Regions from separate parts of the Homo sapiens genome. Here regions 1 and 3 are each linked to region 2. The links are contacts of gene promoters, found by promoter capture Hi-C in human tissues and cell types (Jung and others, 2019). All regions are on one chromosome and are shown on one strand. Each heading gives the region's core, a stretch centred on a gene start or on the middle of the fragment in contact. The rest is flanking DNA. Distances are from core to core; before and after follow the strand shown. Region 1 holds the start of SEZ6L (seizure related 6 homolog like). Region 2 holds the start of CRYBB2 (crystallin beta B2). Region 3 overlaps MYO18B (myosin XVIIIB).

Region 1 (4,416 bases), core at 780-3,279, 950 kb after region 2:
GGAATACTATGCAGTCATAAAAAAGAATGAGATCATGTTCTTTGCAAAAACATGAATGGAGCTGGAGACCATTATCCTTAGCACACTAATGCAGGAACAGAAAACCAAATATCACAAGTTCTCACTTATAGGTGGGAGCTAAATGATGAGAGCACACAGACACATAGAGGGGAACAACACACACAGAGGCCTACCAGAGGGTGGAAGGCAGGAGGAGGGAGAGGATCAGAAAAAAATTACTATTGAGTACCAGGCTTAATACCTGGTTGGTGAAATCATCTGTACAACAAACTCCCATGACACAAGTTTGCACACATAACAAACCTGCACAAGTACCCCTGAACCTAGGAATTAAAAATAGTTTCCTTGCCTCCAAGTATGGAGCTAAACTACCTCTTCGTTTTTCTCTCGCTCGCTTTCTTCCCTTTCCCCTCCTCCTCCATCTTCCTTGCTTCTTTAGGTTTCCATTGAACAAGTCTCACTGAGCACCCGCTGCATGCCTGCATTATACTATACAGAGCCTGAGCGTATAGCCACAAACAGGCAAGGTCATTCCACAGAGAGCTGGCAGCCTCATACAGTAAAGCATGGAGTGCTTCATCTTCTCCAAAGGAGAAATCAGCACTCCTGCATCCCTGCCTCAGCCACCTTCTTTATAAAAGCCAGTTGGGTTTACTGCCAGGAATGGAAACCTCTTGCAGCTGAAGATAGGATTTTATGGGGGGGCTCTCTGTCCCCCAAAGCCTGAGGCAGGTCTGGGCCTATAGTCAGTGGCCTGTAAAAGAGCATTGTTTGAGTGAGTAAATGGGGAAGCTCTGGGTGTGGAGCGTCTTCTGAAACCCTGGGCCAGAGTGCTTCTCCTTCCCTCCTCCATCCAGTGTTCACCTCCCCCACCCATTCTTTCTAGGGACTCCCGGCTCCACCACGCTGCTAAAGACATATTCCTCCCCCTGTTGCTGCCTGCAACCTTCTCTCCATCTGCTCCCTCTGCCTGTTCAGGCTGCAGTGTGTAGATAGTATGGCAAGGTAGGGTAGGGGGAGGAGGACAGCTTCTAAATTGGGTGAGAGGCCTGTAAAGCCTGACCGGTCTGCCAAGGCTACGCAGGGAGAGACAGTCAGTCTCCAGGACTGTGCATAAGCTTGTCCCCACCTAGCTCTCTGCCAATGTCTGTCCCCAAGTATCTGTTTATCTCCCTCATTGATTGTCCCTCACTACCTCTATTTGTGGAGAAAAGACTTTGCTTGAGAATCAGGCCTGGGCAAGAATGCTGCAGAGGTGGGCCTTGTAGTCCTGCTCAGATAGGGAAGCGGGTACAGGAAGAGGCAAGCGGCTGACCTGAGAGGAAGCCTCGCAGCGCTAGTGCCCTGCCGGCAGTGGGGTTATGGGAGACAGGGCTCAGATTAAAAAGTGGAGGTGGATCTTAATTTAGAGTTCGTGATTGGGCTTCAGAGGGGTCCAGACCCCCTCGTGTTAGATGCACGATTTTGTGGCTATGTGTAGTGTTCTAGTAGATTCACAGCTGTCACCAGATCCACAGAGTTACAGACTTTCTAGGTTATGGGGACTCACTTTGGAAGCAGTGAGGCCCTGGCGGGGAAGCAGGCTGGCTGGATCCCAGAGGGCTCTGGAAAGAACTGGAACTGGGATGTATCTGGAAGGCTGGGCAGGCAATGGAAAGCTCCGGGCTGCTCATAAGCTCGGTTTCCAGGGCTCCATCTCACCGTCTGGAAAATGGTCCGGGTGCTCTCCAGCCTGGCCTGGCCAGGCAGAGCTGCTGGGAGCGTCAGCAGGGAGAGAAAACGCTCGGCTCCCAGGACGCAAGGGGAATTGGCGTTAAACTTTGCAGGGCCGACGGGCCGGCGGCCAGAGGAGGCGGCTGGCACCCCCGGCGCCGCCGCGGCCCCTCCAGCTCACTGCCCGCTCGCCCGCCCCCTCCCTCCCTGCACTCGCTCGGCACAGACTCGGCCCCAGCCCCCTCCCTCCTCCCGCTCGCTCCACGCTCGTTCGCTCGCTCGCCGGCTCCTCCTCACTCGCCCGCCCGCGCCCGGCGCAGCTCGGCCAGAGCGACCGCGGGGCTGAGCGCGCGTCCGCCCAGGGGGCTCCGGAAGCTGCCCCGGCCCGCGGCCTCCTCCCTCGCTCCCGCTTCCCCTTTCTCGCTCACCGCCGCCCTCCTTCCCCAGCTCCCTCGCCGTCCGCCCGCCCCACAGCCAGCGGCTCCGCGCCCCCTGCAGCCACGATGCCCGCGGCCCGGCCGCCCGCCGCGGGACTCCGCGGGATCTCGCTGTTCCTCGCTCTGCTCCTGGGGAGCCCGGCGGCAGCGCTGGAGCGAGGTAAGCGCCCCGAGGGGCGGGGCGGGCAGGGGGCAAAGTTGCCGGGAGAGCGGGGCAGCCAGGGGTCGGGGCTGACCAGGGCGACTCAGGCACCACCCGCCGGGATGGGAAGCGGTGGTGGCTGTCCAAAATCGGGGCTAGGAACCGCACGTCCCCTTGGCCCGGGCTGATGGGAGTGTGGAGGCGGGGATGTGTTGAAGGACTCGGGCGCTTCCCTGCTTCGGCTGCGGGCTCCCTTTCGGTCTTCCCCGGCTGCGGGGCTGATTCTCCTTTGCAGCCAAAGAGGTTCTCCTTGGAGTGGGGTCGCCTCCAAACCCCAAATTCCCGGCGCTTCTCTGCAACCGCACCCGGGGCTAGGTGCCAGATAATTATCTTCCTCTCCGGGAGAGGACAGGAAGGGGGGTGAGAAGCTGACCCACCCTGCAACTGAGGACTAGACTCAAACAGTGCATTTGCCGCTCCCCCCGACACCACAGAAACCCTTGACTCCTTTGGTTCAGGCTACCCCGAGGGTCTGTGTTCCTGGATCGATCTCAGCCAAGCGTCAGGATACCGGACTTGGGTGTGGCTTTCGCTAGAGGCCGGTGGAGGGGGCTGAGGGCTCTGAGAACTTGGTAGGGGAGGGAGAAGAGATGTTAGTTAGCAGTTGGGAACCTGAACGGGCTCCCCTCTACTCTCTCCCCTACTGCCTAGCATCTCTGATCACTGTTAGGAATGGGGGGTGAGGGGTGTTAGTTTCATCTACCACGTGTTTGTTGAAGGGGAAGAGGGGCCCAAATTTAGCAGAGAATGACAGCTCCTCTTTCTCAGACCTGGAACCATACCCTCTCTCCACCCCGGTAAGGTACCCCAGGAAAAGTTATGGGTGGGGGAGAGGGCCAGATAGAGAGAGGGGTGCAACGCCTAACTCACCCAAAGCTAACCCTCAGAGCTTCGGGGGTTTTCTCAGGCACCTAGGAGACCCGAAAATCAATGGGAGGGTTAGTTGGCCACAGGACCCGGCCTTCTTGCAAGGTCCCAGAAATGCGCTCCTCACGTGTAAAAAAGCAGACAGCTGCAGGGTCTGCCCAGGCTGAAGACAGAGGGAGCGCAGGCACTATGCTTATCTGGGGCTCCGCCTCTGTCATTTGCACCGTCTTGACTCGGAGTTGGGGGACAGGCGGTGTTCTTCTCCGGGGAGTTCTGGACCCCCAGCGCGCGCACCTGCTTTCAGCACCAAAGGCCCTGGACAGCTCTCAGCTCCATGGGCCCTGGCTCTGGGTCCCTTTCCCTTCAACCCTTCCCGGTGGCCTGGAGTGCCCCCCTCAGCATAAATCAGGCATTTTATCCCCCATCTCCCCGTCTTTTTAAATGTAGAGCCCAGAGTGCAGAGCAAAGGAAATTGTTCATCACCTTTTGTTTAACAAAGCATATCATTGAAGAACCCCCACCCCTTTTTTATGGGGCAATAATGTCCACAATTTACACCAGGTCTGGACAGTTTCTCTGGGAAAGATAGGGAAAGAGATTTGGTTTAAACAAATCGTTTCCACCACAGCATGGCCTTTCTTAATTAGCTGTCTCTTTCTAACAATGGCTTGGTGGCCTTGAACTGAGTCCAGCTCTCCCTCCCCCACCCCCTTTTGAATCTGTGTTGTGACTAACACACATATAAAAAGAACCTGAATCTACCCAGCAGCTTACTGGATTTTCTAAAGCAGTTCTACCTCTGAGAACTCCACTCTCCAATACACCACCTTGCAGGGAAAAAAAAATTGTCTTAATGGCACGTATTGAATTGTCATCTAAGACAAGGATTTCCTATTCTGTTTCCTTCACGGGCTGCAAACACATTGTAAGAGCAGGGGGAGACATGTGTGTGTTTTAATTTTTAAGACATTTCATACTATTTTTCCAACTGCTCAACACCATGGCTAGCCAGCATATTTTTTAAATTGACTTCAGGTCACCACCAAATTAAAGTCAATTGATGTGCTACTTCAGAAAGCTCATTAATAAGTGTGTGGTTCTGACTCTGAGTCATAAGGAGGGAGTGATACTGGCCAATGAGCATTGCCGAGTCTGATGGTGCATTTGGAGACAATT
Region 2 (4,637 bases), core at 903-3,402:
TTGTATTTTTAGTAGAGACGGGGTTTCTCCATGTTGCTCAGGCAGGTCTCGAGCTCCCAACCTCAGGTGATCCGCCTGGCTTGGCTTCCCAAAGTGCTGGGATTACAGGCGTGAGCCGCTGTGCCCGGCCAGCCCTGGGATTTTAAAACAAGTACCTACTATGCGTCAGGCACTGGGCTCTGGAGATACCATGGTAAACCAGGGGGACAACTTCTTTGCTTTTGTGGTGCTTATCTTCTCATTGGAAAGACAGAAAATAAATGAGTAACAGAATGTTGGGTAGTGATGAGTGCTGCAAAAGGAAAAGCCCAGCTAGGGGGCTGGGGCATGTGTGTGTAGTGTGTGTGCATGCGTGTGCATGCATATGTGCATTAAGAAAATGAGAGACAGGGGAAAGCAGGTATACTTGACCCAGTCTCCAAGCCTCAGATTGGATCAAGACACAGCCTGGGCTGCAAGGAAGGTGTGTGCACTAAAGAAACATGAGTAAAGGCCGGGCGCGGTGGCTCACGCCTGTAATCCCAGCACTTTGGGAGGCCGAGACGGGCGGATAATGAGGTCAGGAGATCGAGACCATCCTGGCTAACACAGTGAAACACCGTCTCTACTAAAAATACAAAAAATTAGCCGGGCGTGTTGGCGGGCGCCTGTAGTCCCAGCTACTAGGGAGGCTGAAGGAGGAGAATGGTGTGAACACGGGAGGCAGAGCTTGCAGTGAGCTGAGATCGTGCCACTGCACTCCAGCCTGGGCGACAGAGCGAGACTCCATCTCAAAAAAAAAAAAAATAGAAAAGAAATGTGAGTAAAGGCTGGGCACCCATGTGGCAGCGATGGGGCCAGTGGTAGGGATCTAAGAGCAACTCACTCTAGGACAGTGGTTAAGAAACAGGCCGGGTGCAGTGGCTCATGCCTGGAATCCCAGCACTTTAGGAGGCCAAGGTGGATGGATTGCCTGAGCTCAGGAGTTTGAGACCACCCTGGGCAACATGTCAAAACCCTGTCTCTAACAAGATACAGCAAAAAAAAGAATTTAGCTGGACCTGGTGGCGCACACCTGTAGTCCCAGCTACTGGTGAGGCTGAGGCAGGAGAATCGCTTGAACCTGGGAGGCAGAGGTTGCAGTGAGCCGAGATCACACCACTGCACTCCAGCCTGGGTGACAGAGTGAGATTCCATCTCAAAAGAAAGAAAGAGAAAGAAAGAAAGAGAGAGAGAGAGGGGGAGAGAGAGAGAGAGAGAGAGAGAGAGGGGAGAGAGAGAGAGAGAGAGAGAGAGAGAGAGAGAGAGAGAGAGAAGAAAGAAAGAAAGAAAGAAAGAAAGAAAGAAAGAAAGAAAGAAAGAAAGAAAGAAAGAGAAAGAAAGAAAGAAAGAAAAGAAAGAGAAACAGCCAGGGGCCTTGAGAATAAAATGCACTCTCCATAATTGGCCTCCCTGGCCCTGCAACATCAGGCCCTGCCCACCTTGGCCACCTGGCACAGGCCCTATTTGTCACATGTCATGCTTTAGCTTTGTTAACCTGTTTTCAGGTCTTCTTGAAATACACCATGCTGGTTCCTTGTATATGGACCCTTTCTGCTTGGAACTGTCCCCCCACCCTGTTCCCAGGCTTCCTCTTCTCCATCCCTGAGGGATGCGCTACCTCCCAGGAGCTTTTCTGAATGGCCTGGGCTGGCGTAGGTCCTCTTCCTGACACTCCCCTGGAACAGAGATTGTCACCAAGTGGATGCCCAACAAATATTTGTTGAATGAATAAATGGGTAGATGAATGAAGCCCAGACTCTGCCAAACCACCCTTCTTTACTTGTTCTTCCCCAGGCCCACTGAGATGTTCCTCTGTCTGCCATGCCTCACGGCCTGACTGACCGTACCAGTGAACCCAGCGTACCCCTGGCCCTGGCAGCCGGACGGCTGATGCATGCAAAGCGGGCATCTCCTTGCCCAGCCGCCTGACCGCCCTGGCGCGGCCGAATCTGAAAGCTAATGACATTATTGTGCAGAGACACAATGTCTGTGGGCATTTGCTGACCCGAGCTTTGGTGAGAGCTTAATCCAGCATTCTCACCCTGCTTTTCGCAGGAGCACAGCGGTCACTCATCTTGGCACCGGCACTTCTGGGGAAGGTATAAATGCCACCTCCCGCTGGCCGAGCTTCACGGCACTCGCAGGGGCTGGTGTCACTGGTAAGATTGCCTCTCTTGCTTGTCTTCCCTTCTTTCTCTCATCCTCACCCCTGTCCGCAAGCATGGGAGCACCCAGATTCTGACAAGTGACTTTGGGCAGAGACTTCAATGCTGTTAGCCTCAGTTTTCTTTTCTGGTAACTGGGAAGGGGGTTAAAAAGCCTTCTTTATTGTAAGGATTCAAGAGAAGTTAGGGGATCATCCAGCACAGTGCCTGGCACACAGTGGGCATTGGGGCAATGTTCTTTATTATTAATATTAAACAGACTATCAGCATCCTTGTTTCGCCAGTCGCTGAGGAGGAGAATGTAACTGAGGGTTTTGCAAGAATCAAACCAGTGACAGTTCAGCATTGTTTCTAGGTGGGTGAGTCAGTTTTCCTCCACATCTGCAATTAGGGGGCACCCACTCTGTGCCTAGCCTCTGGGAGTGCTAGGGGATAGGATGCAGCCACAGGTATGTGACAGGTCCCAGCAACAGGTGATTTCAATGCCACTAAAGCATGGTAGAAATGACTCTAATAATGCCACAATTGCTGCCATTTGCTGCATGCTGAGTGTGTTCTGGGACCACGGCCAAGTGCTTCCGGTTTTATACATTACATAATTGAATCCTCACAACCTGTTCACAGGTATTATTAGACATCATTACTGTCCCCATTTTATAGAACAGGAAGTTGAGGCATAGGGAGAGGATGAGACCTGCCCAGAGTCTCAATTCTGGCAGGCAGCAGAGACTGCTCCTGAACTGGACCAACTGAGCTTCTTCAGTCTGTGAACACTCAGGACTGGGAAGTGATATGGCAGGACCTCAGGCACTCTGACAAGCCCAGAGGGCTGGTTTCTTGCGGGAGAGCAGTAGATTTGGCTGCCAAGGTGCTTAACTGCATTTCTTCCTCCTGGGAAACATCCAGTATTGGCCTTTCATGTGGAAGGGGCTTCTGGAAGCTGGCGTTATCTCTGAAGAGGGAGGCCAGGCTTCCTCTCTTACCCCTGGGGAAACACAGCCTGGTTTGACCACCCCTTCTGCAGGAAGGGGGAAGAGGCTGACAATTTTCCAGGCTTTTCTGATGTTCTCACTAGCTAAGGCAGGTCTACCCTGCTGCCTGCCACAGTGCCTGGATTTCTACCGTCGCACCCATTTCTTCTCTTTCTTGTAATGTGGGTTCTGTATCAGATGATTTCACTAATGGGGGAGTAAAACCAGTGGCAGAGAAGAGAAATCTAGGTACCAGGATGGGGAGAGGAGTCCCAGGGAGAGGGTGGGAGAAGGAGCAGGGGAACAGGGAACTTTGTGAGTTCCTAAACTGGGCACCACCACACCACCAAATACAGCCAATGCATAGGTTTTGTTTGTTCCACACAATTTTATTTAAGAAATTACTGCATAAAGGCAGAAGTTCTGGGATTGACCATTCTATATTCTGTGTGGTATCCATTGTCTGGGGTTGAGTGTTGGGAACCCACTTTGGACCTCATTTAAGCTCTAGTTTATTACTGCTCTCTTTCTTTGAGTAGACCTCGTTTTTCCCTCCTCCTGCAGCTGGCCTGGATAGAAATAAATGAAGCTAAGGACAGAAGTTGAAGTAGCTGCTTACGGACCCCACAGCTCTGGGACAGTCTGAAACCAGGAGAAAAAGAGAATGTTTGGGGCCAGAGGGGAGTGGTCTCAAGGCCCCACAGAGTGAAAAAGCCAGTGGCCCCTCCAGGTCCTCACTGCTGCTTCCCATGTCTTCCAGGTCATTCCTGCACAGGACAGTCCACCATGGCCTCAGATCACCAGACCCAGGCGGGCAAGCCACAGTCCCTCAACCCCAAGGTGGGTACCTCTCAGAGGAGGGGGCATGCAATGCTCCTCCCCCAGACTTAGTTGCCCTTCTGTAAAATGGGCTTGGCATCTTTCTTCATGGGTACCCCCTCTCGACCCCTGCCCCTCTCTGGGACTCAGTCTCCTCTACCCACACAGTTGGAGCTGATACTGAAAGTCCCTCCCCAGCCCATAGCTGGCATGCTGGGATTCCCAGTACCAGCCTCTGGCTTTGGAGACTTCAGTTTCTCTCTCCCTTACCTGTTTTGCCACACCCTATTGTCTACAGGGCTCCCTGAAACTGGAGCAGACCCTCATTCTCAGTCAGAGATGGGATTAGTAGATGGAAGGTGGGTGTGAGTCCTGGCTCTGCACCTGCTGTGTGATCCGGGCCAATTATTTGATCCCTCTGAGCCTCAGTTCCATCTCTATAAAAGGAGGAGTCAGATTTATTGCACAGGGAAGTTGTGAGAGCCAAAGAAACCAGGCTCAGCCTAACACCCGGCCTGGGGTGCGCATCCACCTAACACCAGCAAATAATGCCGCCTTTGATTTCTCATCCACCTGTCCACCCAAGGGCGGCAGGATCTTATCCCAACGTCAGAGGCTTGTCACACCCAGTCTGCCCTCAAACCTCTATCTAGGCACGGCC
Region 3 (4,580 bases), core at 65-2,564, 610 kb after region 2:
CTCCCTCTGACGCTGCTGAAGTAATTACCATCTGAGCCCACAGACATATTATCTAGAAACCAAGGGGATCATGCGTGCTTAGAGAGGGAGTACTGGGAATGGGAAATGAACTGCTGGCGGAGGAAACTGCCTTCACCAGTGAAGGGCAGCTGCTTCAAGGTTTGGGTTCTCAGAGGCCACATCTGTGAAATGCCGCATGGATGATCAAAGTACCTACTACAGCATTTATAAGCACCTAGTAGGTGTCTGTCTTGCCAAGAATAAACCGACTTCATCTTCATGCATGTCTGTGTGGTGGCTGCTCTTATTATCCCCATTTTATAGTTGGAAAACCTTGGCAAACAACAGAAGAACCAAGGTTCAACTAAGGGCCTCCAAAGCTCCTAGCTGATCATACTCGTGGTGATGAGAGCAGGTGGCATTTACTGAGCACTAACCACATGGCAAACTTTGCTTTCACAGCCATGGAAGCTTATCACACCCAACCCTCACAACAGCCCTCTGAGCTAGTCACCATCATTAACTGAGACGGTGGCTAAGACGGTGGAGGCTCAGAGAGGTTGGGCAACTCTCCCAAGACACACATCCCCTCTGTCACAGAGCAAGGATTGAAGCCCACATGTGACTGGCTCCAAAATCTCTTAAGTCCTAAATTTTGATGTGAATAATCCCTGTTGTGTCCACCCCTACAGATTCATCAGGAGAATACAAGGAGGTGATAGCTTGAAAGAATTTTGTAAACTGATGTATTAAATAAAATAGTTTTTTGATTTTAATAGGCCTCTGAAGAAAGAAAAGGAGGGCCTAGGCTTCATATGGTAGCCAACTTCTGGGTGACCTTAAGCTAGTCATTTTTTTTTTTTTTTACTTTGGGCCAGTGGGAGGCAGTTTAATTCCTTTAGTCCTTATAGCTATCCCTGGGATAAGCCTACTCACCCCCATCCTCATTTAACAGTTGGGGAAACCCCTGCTCAGAGAGGTTAAGTAGCTTGCCTGAGGTCACACAGCCTGTAAGAGGTGAGCTTGGTTTTGAAACCAGTTCTGCTGGAGGCTTGGATCAGTGTGCTCCTAGATTCCATGCCATCTCAGACATTCCACCTCTCTCTTCTCTCCCTAGATCCTTTTCCTCCCACCATCTCTCCATGGCCTCCATCATGGTGGTGGACTCTCCAGGCTTCCAGAACCCCCGGCACCAGGGCAAGGACCGGGCGGCCACCTTTGAGGAGCTGTGCCACAACTACGCCCATGAGCGCCTGCAGCTGCTGTTCTACCAGCGGACCTTTGTCTCCACGCTACAGCGATATCAAGAGGTATGCCTGGGCTGGAGCAGGGCTTTCACCAGAGCTCCGTGGATGGTGTAAGGTCAGATGGGAAGGGGTGGGATTCCCATTCCCCAGGAGCCTGCAGCTTCACCCTGTTTGGTTCACCAGAGAACAAAGCCCTTTCCCCAGGCCTGGCTCCCCAGACCTCTGTTGCTCCCTCCACAGCCCAGCCTCCCCCTGCCACCTTCTGAACCCCGCAGCCCAGAAGCACCAAGGAACTCGGGCTTCCCCAGTCCTTGCTTCCACGGCTGTCCTTTCTTTGGGATGACTGCTTCATTCTCTCCCACTTCACTTAAGCAGAAGGCTCCTCCAAGAGTCAGTCTGCATCTGCCCAGGGGGGGAATGCCCTTTGAGTCCTGTGGGTGGGTGGCAGCAGTGGGCTCCACACCCCTCTGCAGCACAGCACGGTGAGTCTCACAAAGTTGAAGGTACATGCATCACAAAACCCAGCAATTCCTCTTCTAGGAGGCACCTGAGAGAAACTCTGTGTGTGAACCAGGAAGCATGTACAGGCATGATCCTGCCAGCCCTTCTTTTTTCATAAAAAAAAAAAAAAAGAGGTTAAGTTGAAATATAAGGCCAGGCACGGTGGCTCATGCCTTAATCCCAGCACTTTGGGAGCCCGAGGCGGGCGGATCACCTGAGGTCAGGAGTTCAAGACCAGCCTGACCAACGTGGCAAACCCCATCTCTACTAAAAATACAAAAATTAGCCAGACTCAGTGGCGCACGCCCATAATCCCAGCTACTCGAGAGGCTGAGGCAGGAGAATCGCTTGAACCCGGGAGGTGGAGGTCGTGGTGAGCTGAGATTGCGCCACTGCACTCCAGCCTGGGTGACAAAGAGAGACTCCATCTCAAAAAATAATAATAATAATATAAAATAAAATAAAATAAATAAAATTTACAAAGAAAAGTGCATAAACCAGAAGCATATAGCTCAGTGAATTTACCCAAATGAACATACGTGTGTCTCTATCACCCACGTGAAAATGAGAGTATTTTCAGTTCCCCATATGACTCCCACCTTCTTCCCTGAAGGTGTGACCACTTTTATTCCAATAAGTACCACTGGCAGAATATTAGAAATGGCCATATTGTTCACCAGTTGAATAATATAGAATAATAGGTATTGAAGTTCCAGTCATTTTTTTGGTTGGTAATAAAAATAAAGCACCAACATAAATGAATCTCAAACAGATGATGCTGATGAAACCTGAGGTCTGATCCTAACTCTGTCGCTTATTGGCTGTGTGGCCTTAGGAAAGGCACTCACCCTCTCTGACCCTCAATTTTTTTTTTTACGTGGAAAACAGAGATAATAATACTTTTGTATCAGTTATGATTTGCCATAATAATGCTGCGTAATAAACTACCCCCAAGTGTAGTGGCTTAGAAAAAAATCTTCGGTTGTTGCTCACAAGTGTCTGGATGGCCTGGGCAGCTCTCTTGGTCCAGGATGGTTCTTGAGCTTGTGTTCAGATTCAGGTGTAGGTTGGGGTAGATGGCTCTGATGATCTTGGCAGGGCTCGCTCATGCGTGGGATCAGCTGGCCATGAACGGATCTAGGCAGGCCTTGTCTGGGGTAACCTTGTCCCTGTTCCACAAATGTCCCATCCTCCAGCAGGCTAGCTTGGGCTGTCCTTGTAGTGCTGGGCAGGGTTCCAAGAGAGCAAACAGAAGCGTGCAGGGGACCTTGAGGCCTGGACTTGAGGCCTGCACAGAATCACTTCCACTGTGTTCGGTGAGTCACAACAGGTCTAAGGCTGAGCATGGATTCAAGGGGTAGGAAAACAGGCTCCACTTCTTGATGGAGGCACTGCAGTGTCACTCTGCAGAGAGTATAGATACAGGGAAGTGCAGAGAACCAGGGTTGTTTTAGATCATTGTTACCAGACTCCCCAAAGGGGCCGTTTTGAACATTTAATGAACAAGAATAAAGAGTGTAACAGCTATTTTATTTTTCCCATAATATTTCACTTATTTCTGATTATCAATGTAATACATTTTTAATTAAAACGCTGGAAAGTTCATATGAGTATAAAGAAACTAAAGATACAATCTCCTTTGGCGCTTCTATCCAGAGGCAACCATTGTTACTATTCTGTTTCTTTTTTGTTTGTTGTTTGTTGTTGTTACCATTTTCCCTTTATTATGTTGTCCGTGGATTTTGGATCTTCCTGTATATATGAGTTTGTTGTCTGTCATTTTCCTCACAGTATTACATTATTCACATAACCTCCCTCCACTTACAAATCTTAGTAAACCTGCTTGCAGTGGTTAGATCTGATTGTATTCCCTCTCCTATAGACATCAGGGTAGTTTCTAAGTTCAAGGCTTTATAAACAATACTGCAGTGAACATCCTTGTCCACAGCATTTCCTGGACATTTCTAGTGATTTTTTAAAATTTTTTGTTTTTTAGATGGAGGTTCGCTCTTGTCGCCCAGGCTGGAGTGCAATGGAGTGATCTCAGCTCACTGCAACCTCTGCCTCCCGGGTTCAAGCGATTCTCTTGCCTCAGCCTCCCAAGTAGCTGGGATTACAGGCACCTGCCACCACGCCTGGCTAATTTTTGTATTTTTAGTAGCGATGGGGTTTCACCATGTTAGCCAGCCTAGTCTCTAATTCCTGACCTCAGGTGATCCGCCTGCCTCGGCCTCCCAAAGTGCTTGGATTACAGGCATGAGCCACAGCATCCGGCTTCTGGTGACATGATTGTGGCAACTATTATTCCCCATAGTTTACATTTGTTACTTCCAGCACCGAACACTCAGCCTAGCACTCATTAGGTTCTCAGTAAATATTTTAAAAGTTTGGACCGAGTTATCAGTTTCTGATAAAGCTCTCAGCATGACGGCTGACACGCTGCATGATGAGCAGAATGTCATTGGAGTGTGGATTTACAATCTTTCTTCCTACACAAAGGCTAAAAGGTGATGAATAAACAAACAACCCCATTAGCAACTGGAAAAATTAATTAAACAGACATTTCTCCAGAGATTTACAAAAGCACACAAAAAGAAGCTCACCATCACAAATCGTAAGAGAAATGCAAATCCAAACCACATTGAGACACCACCTCCCACACACTACAATGGCTACTATTAAAAAAAATCAGAAAATAACAAGTGTTGGGGTGATGTGGAGAAACTTGAACCCTTGTGCAGTATTGGTGGGAATGTAAAATAGTGCAGCCGCTGTGGAAAACAGAATGGTGGACCTCAAAACCTAAAAAAATAGAATTCCCATGTGATTCAG

Evidence for each region. The method cuts DNA at HindIII sites, captures the fragments that hold promoters and counts their contacts. A contact is called where the count stands out against the background at its distance.
Region 1: the fragment with the promoter of SEZ6L here is called in contact with the fragment with the promoter of CRYBB2 in region 2 in 2 of the 25 tissues and cell types used here (neural progenitor cells and spleen).
Region 3: a fragment that was not itself captured here is called in contact with the fragment with the promoter of CRYBB2 in region 2 in 3 of the 25 tissues and cell types used here (H1 embryonic stem cells, dorsolateral prefrontal cortex and spleen).

The regions. Positions count from the first base shown.
Region 1 is chr22:26,167,433-26,171,848 of GRCh38, forward strand. It overlaps SEZ6L (seizure related 6 homolog like), which reads left to right and starts at 2,030. Exons shown (of 17, transcript NM_021115.5): 1 at 2,030-2,331. The coding sequence starts at 2,238. LOC105372971 (a long non-coding RNA gene) reads right to left here and starts at 1,802. Exons shown (of 6, transcript NR_188586.1): 1 at 1,571-1,802. RefSeq lists a silencer at 2,053-2,182 and an enhancer at 3,009-3,948. The HindIII fragment of the contact is 7,592 bases long and covers 278-4,416 here.
Region 2 is chr22:25,217,487-25,222,123 of GRCh38, forward strand. CRYBB2 (crystallin beta B2) reads left to right here and starts at 2,153. Exons shown (of 6, transcript NM_000496.3): 1 at 2,153-2,180; 2 at 3,918-3,997. The coding sequence starts at 3,944. The HindIII fragment of the contact is 11,576 bases long and covers 1-4,637 here.
Region 3 is chr22:25,827,659-25,832,238 of GRCh38, forward strand. MYO18B (myosin XVIIIB) reads left to right here. Exons shown (of 44, transcript NM_032608.7): 15 at 1,118-1,310. Among named protein-coding and RNA genes, the nearest start is that of MYO18B-AS1, 70 kb to the right of the region's middle. The HindIII fragment of the contact is 4,920 bases long and covers 1-3,774 here.